Regions from separate parts of the Homo sapiens genome. Here region 1 is linked to region 2. The links are contacts of gene promoters, found by promoter capture Hi-C in blood cells and fetal thymus (Javierre and others, 2016). All regions are on one chromosome and are shown on one strand. The core of a region is centred on a gene start or on the middle of the fragment in contact, and the rest is flanking DNA. Distances in the headings are between cores, read along the strand shown. Region 1 overlaps TMEM72-AS1 (TMEM72 antisense RNA 1). Region 2 holds the start of ZNF32 (zinc finger protein 32).

Region 1 (2,947 bases), core at 231-2,730, 1.2 Mb after region 2:
GGAGTCAAGCAGGAAACCCGGAGAGCCACTCCCTGAGGAGGAGCAGCCCCAAGGGATTGTGGGGGGCCAGTGTCAGCTTGGCCTCAGACATCCCAGCACGGGTGCAGAGGAGCACAGCACTGTAGTCCCCCCAGCTCAGTCGCTGTCCCTGCTGCCTGACCCAGCTGCCCAGCCTCTTTGTCACTGGTCACATGATTCTTTCACAAAACAAGTAGAACAAGGCATGGTTGTATGAATTTCTAGCTCCCTACCCTCCAGCCTGGGTAGGTCAGGGCACCTGTCTGAACCTCCATTGCTCATCCCATTCAACAAATGTTTGAGCAATCATTTGATGGCAGGTCTTGCGGAAGATATGGCTTATAGAACACGAAGCACATGTTTCTTTTGCAATTGCAGCACATCTTACATGTATGTAAAAAGTAGCTCAATTAAACAGATGAGTGTTAATATTCAAAGATGAGGAAACACATTCTCTACATTGCTGATGGTGTTTATGTCTGCAAAGGGAATTCGGATTGGGAGGATGGATGGAAATTAGAGCTTGGAATCCACAATCAGACCAACACAGGCCTTTGGCGGCTGGGAAGAGGGTCGGGTGCCCTGATCTTCAGGGCCTCCAGCGCTGGGTTCGGGGTTCCTGACCAGGATCCTGAAGCTCCACCAGCTCGACAGCCTTGCAGAAAACAACAAGGGGGGCTCGGGCCTCTGTAAATATCTGTTCTTTTTCTGCTCACAGTCTCCACAGGAGGGGATGGGGCTGCATTTAGCTGCTAAAGCCTCTTCCTCTGTAAGTAGGATATTAAGGGATGGAGTCCAGCTAGATAAATAAACCAAGTCCCTGAGGCGAGACCCTTGCTGCCCCCGTAGACCGGAGAAAGTTCCCATAGTCGGACTCCGAGCCAGCAGCTGAAGGGCCTCCTCATGTTTCAGGATTCGGGAGAGGAGGGGCCACGAGGGATCAGCTGTGGATCACATCCCAAACGCCGCTCCTCTCTGGGCTAACACCGCTGGGCCTGGGGATCCTCGTGTGCGGAGGAGGACGAAAGTGTGCCGGCAGCTGGCTGGATCCTGGAAAATGCAGAGGGGAGGGGAGGGCCTGTGGGGACCCTAAAGGCCCCAAGGAGAGGCTGCGGGAAGGCCAAAGGCTGGCGCTCTTATTCCCAGGCATGCCAAGCCCCTGGCTCACACAGGCCTGTGGGGCTCAGTAAAGGACACAACACAACCCTTCTCTGGGCTCCTGGCTGTCTGGCGGGGGAAAAGAGTTGGAAAAAGAAGGCCCATATATCTTAAAATGATAAAAAGTGATGGCCACATACATTGTCAGATGCCTATGTCATTGTCACTTAAGGCATTATGGGGACAGATGGCAAGACAAGCACCATGCAATAATGAGTTCCAACCTGAGTTCTCCTGCTCTGCTAAGGGGTCCTGCGCGCTGGGTAGAGGCCAGGGAGACAGTGTTGATCCACAGACCTGGGAGGAAGAAGTCACCAGGCTCTGTGAGGATCAGCAGAAACCAAGCAGACATCCCACTGCACTGCCCAGGAACCTGGTGGGCATCACACATTTGGAAATACTTTTAGGGAAAGGGGGCAGAAGACAAAGGGGAGCAGTAAAGCAAGTAAGAGTGTCTGTCCAAAAGTCACCAAGAGCAGCTTACAAATCCTGTTCACAGGCGCTCTTGCCTAGACGCCCCTTCCCGGGTCCCAGCGCTTCAGCGCAGCCAGTGTCTTTCCTGTCTTTCCACTCTGAGTCCTCAGGCCAGGCCAGCTCCATGTCCGGGTGCCTTAGCACAGCCTTTGCCCCCAGCCGTGGGGTTGGGAGGCTTCACACCACTCGCTCCAGCCTGCTCCGGGTGTGAAGGCAGCACCTACATGCAGTCCTAACCCTCACCCTGCCTGGAGCACAGAGCCCCAGGTGAATGCTGGCTGGAAGGATTAGTACACTCATCATGTAGGACAAGAATACTATCCCCATTTTTGGACAAATAAACTGAGGTTTTGATTTTTTTGTGTATGTAATTATAAGAGTAAACTGGGAGTAGTTCCAGAGCTGCTTATTCTAAATCTCTCACACACTACCTTCTCAAAGTTAAGTGGAGGCACTGCCTTGATTGTTTCAGCAGGCCCACTCGAAAGTTGCCGGTGAAGGGATGTTCTGGTACTGAATTGAAAGGGAGACAACAAAAGGAGCCAGTGGCCAGTGAGAACACCTCAGAGGGTGTCCACACACCAGCCCCCCTGCTCTCTCCACCACAGGAGCGTTTAGCATTTGCAAATGTGAGTGGAGAGCCTCAAGATTTCGCCGAACTTGGAAAGCATCAGAGAAGAACTACTAATATCTCCATTCACTATGTGCTAAGCACCCTTTGATACACATTGCAGGGTTAAAAAGGTAAACCAAAGCACAGTAAAATTTTTAAAGAGTTTGAGCAAACAGGGATTCATGAATTAGGCAGCTCCAAAGAGGAAGTGGTTTGTGAGTTCCATCAAAGGAATGCAAGAAGGAGATTTCTATAATACAAACAGGGAAGTCAAACAAAAGAAAATATTTAATTGATTATGGATATGCAATTGGCTTATTGAGTCTATCCCACTGAAAAAACCTCTAGTTACATACAAGCATACCTTGGAGACATTGCGGGTTCAGTGACAAACTACTGTCTGCAAATACTGCAAATATCACAATCAAGTGTGTCACATGTTTTTTGTTTCCCACTGAATACCAGTTATGTTTATAGTATACTATAGTCTATGAAGTGTACAATAGCATTATGTCTAAAAAAGCAGTGCACATACCCTAATTCAAAAATACTTCATTGCTGAGAAATACTAATGATTATCCGAGCCTTCGGAGACTTGTAATCTTTTTCTGGTGGAGGGTCTAGGCTTGATGTTGACATGTTGACGGCTGTTGATTAATCAGGGCAGTGGTTGCTGAAGGTTGG
Region 2 (3,156 bases), core at 504-3,003:
TCAATTACAGCTTGCTGTGACTTTGAACTCCTGGACTCAACGGATCCTCCCACTTCAGCCTCCCAAATAACTAGGACTACAGGTAAGCACCACCAAGCCTGGCTAATTTTTAAAAATTATTTTAACTTTTTTTTGTAGAGATCGGGTCTCATTATCCTGCCCAGGCTGGTCTCCAACTCTTGGCCTGAAGTGACCCTCCTGCCTCGGCCTCCCAAGACATGTAGGCATGAGCTACTACACCTGGCCCACATGATCTATTTTTTAAAAAAAATATTTCTTCTTACTTCAGGATCCTAATTACTGAATTCTTATACTTTTAAGAAATGCAGTGGTTCAATGCATACTCCTTGTTTCCCTCTAATTTGTCCTATCAAAATGCTGGCCTTCTGATTTAATGAAATAATAGTATGATGCTACCATTCTTTGTTTTGTCAACCTAAGCACCTGGTTCTTCTTGACAACTGCACATTCTGCTACATGCTGTGATGACCAGGAGAATCATTTAAATTTTTATTTGGAGGACTCACTTCCAACTTGGAACACAAGCTGCAAAGGAATTCCCTACCAGCATGCCAGCACATCATTTGGAAGTTCAAGGTATTCTTGCTCAACAGCTGCACACACATTAAAAGTCCCTGGGGTACATGGCGCCTGCTGCCTGGGGTTGGACTCTGTCGCCGGGGATTCCAGAAATTAGAGTAGAATTCACAGCTCTGCCTCTCCACCTGCTGTGAGGTCTTCAAGTTACAACTCCGCCGCCTATCAGGGACCTCCGTGATTAGTAAGGGAGAAATTGTCATATTTTTCTCCCTAGATCACAGGTCTGAGGAAGCAGTTTCCCCAAGATTTTGTAAAAGTGGCTTTATAATTAAAAACATTGATTTTCCTATTAGAAAGGCTACTATATCCTTTGGAAAAAGCTTAGAAGTAGTCCGTGAGTCTTGGCTTCTTGCCGTGGCTCCCCCAGGATATGATCTTGGGCGAGTAACCCAGCAGCCCTGACTCTGCTTCCCCACTTATTAAACAGGTTACTAACACTGTCCTATCAGGTAGGACAATGAGAAGGAAAGAACCAAACAAGAGGAGTATCAGACGAGACCACCAGACTTAAGATCTAAAATCCGGCGTCCTCTGGAGGGCGGATGAGAAGAGGGGTACACTTGGCGGTCTGGAAAATGTCCTGGGGCCAGTTTCAGGTTTAGGAGCTTGTGGGTAGCGTGGTTTCCCACACGCTGCCTGGCTTCCTACTCTCCCCCGCAGGGGCTGCCTCTCCTCCCACCCCGGAAGGCCGGCACCGGCTTCCCGCACTCGCTGAAGCCCGCACGGAGGCCGGGTGAGCCTGCCGCGGCCTCCCCCTCCCACGCCCCGACGCCATGGGCCCTGCTCCTCTCCGCAGACGCTGCCCTCCCGCCTCAGGCCCCGGGCCCCGGGCACCGGGCCCGCCCTGCGTCCTGAACCTCGGCATCCCGCTCTCCGGTCCACGGGACCCTGCTCTGCGGACCGCCGACCTCTCCGCTCGCGGCTGGCCTCCCTCGGGGCCCGGGCCGGCCAGGCCTGCTCATTTCCTTGGCGGCCGCTGGCATAAGGCGGCCACACGGAGGGCCCGGGACAGCGGTCTGATGGCGCAGCCCCGCCTTGCCCCGGCGCTCTGACCCGGCCAGCGGCCTCACTCACCGCAGCGGCGCGTGCCCGCAGACAAAGGCCGGCGCCGAGCCCGCAGCAGCGCCAGCGCCGGCGCCGGCGGAATGGACTACAACTCCCAGGAGTCTCCCCGCGAGCCCGCCCGCCGGGCCGTGGGTCTCGGCGGCCCCGGCTTCCCAAGAGCTCTGTGGGAAATGTAGTTCTCTGGCGCGCCCTGCGCTCGGGCCCCGCAGGTCCCTAGGGCGCGGGGACCTCAAGCCGTCCCGTTTGGACTGGTAATCCGGAGACTCACAGCGGTGACCTGTCAGCGGACGCGGAGCCGGGACGGAGCCACGGCCGCTCAGATTAGCAGGATCTGATTGACAGCATCGGGGTAGCAGACGCTGAGCCAGGGACTCAGGAATACAGGGTTCTTGCAGGGCGTCGCGGAAGGAAACGAAGTTTTTGGGAGAAATCCGTTTGATAAAGCCTTGGCGGCTTCGAGGTCATGTGTTGAGCCTCTGGCTGCATGAACAAAAGCGAAGCCCGCTTTCATGGAGCTTCTGTGAAGAGCAACAGGAACACAGGCAGTCCAGTCGTCCTGAGATACTGGGAGGAGCATGGTTGCTTTTGAACACGTAGGAGATAAAGCCTCTCTAATAATGCCTGTTTTTTTTTTTCCTTCACTCTGTCTCCCAGGCTTGAGTGCAGTGGCACGGTGTCGCCTCACTGCAACCTCCGCCTTCTGGGCTCAAGTGATTCTCCTGCCCCAGCCTCCCAAGTAGCTGGGACTACAGGTCTGTGCCACCATGCCTGGCTAATTTTTTTGTATTTTTAGTAGAGATGAAGGTTTTACCATGTTGGCCAGGCTGTCTGATATGCCTTAAGCCTCTTTTAAACGCACTTTTCCAGGATCGGGGCCACATCCTGGAGCTGTTCTGCCTGGCCGGGTGTATCTCTGGGTCCCTGCCTCTGGAGCCCCTCTCCGTAGATGTGTCTGTCCATCCTCTTTCGTGAAGGACTAATAAAGAATGCTTCCTCTTGCTATGTTCTTGTTCTCTACCCCAAAGCCACAGATTTGTTAAATCAAACAACTTAATTTCACTCAATATGCAAAGGTGTCTGTAAGTAATAAGTTGATTCCTAAATGTTAGCTTTTACTATTGCACATCATTTCTGAATTTCATTCAACATTTATCCGTTGAATCCATTTTAAGTGCTGACACTGGGGATACGAATGTGAGCAAGACACACTCCGTGCTCCTAGGGAGGAGCTGACAGTCTGGTGGAGCAAACAAACACCACCTTCCTCACATGGGGGTCGGGGTGTTGCACAGCTAAGTCCCAGAGTGTGTGGTGCAAACTGTCCTGAAGCTCCCCATTCCTGAACTGCCCCAGGTGGCTCCTCTCCTCACTCCTCCCAAGTCTGAGAAAGGGGTGGAGGGCGGCACACAGCAAAGGCCAAGGCTCAGAGTCCTAAGGCTGCGGCCTCTGCTTCACACAAGGGTACATAGGTTCTGTTAAGGTCAAGACCGG

Evidence for each region. The method cuts DNA at HindIII sites, captures the fragments that hold promoters and counts their contacts. A CHiCAGO score of 5 or more calls a contact.
Region 1: a contact is called between a fragment that was not itself captured here and the fragment with the promoter of ZNF32 in region 2, in 1 of 17 cell types (neutrophils). The highest score is 5.4, in neutrophils.

What each region holds. Positions count from the first base shown.
Region 1 is chr10:44,827,772-44,830,718 of GRCh38, forward strand. The region is part of intron 4 of TMEM72-AS1 (TMEM72 antisense RNA 1); the gene reads right to left. Among named protein-coding and RNA genes, the nearest start is that of TMEM72, 82 kb to the right of the region's middle. RefSeq lists an enhancer at 1,416-2,279. The HindIII fragment of the contact is 4,928 bases long and covers 1-2,947 here.
Region 2 is chr10:43,647,128-43,650,283 of GRCh38, forward strand. ZNF32 (zinc finger protein 32) reads right to left here and starts at 1,754. Exons shown (of 3, transcript NM_006973.3): 1 at 1,675-1,754. The region is part of intron 1 of ZNF32-AS3 (ZNF32 antisense RNA 3); the gene reads left to right. ZNF32-AS2 (ZNF32 antisense RNA 2) reads left to right here. Exons shown (of 3, transcript NR_047558.1): 2 at 1-82; 3 at 442-892. RefSeq lists a silencer at 1,260-1,779. The HindIII fragment of the contact is 4,172 bases long and covers 919-3,156 here.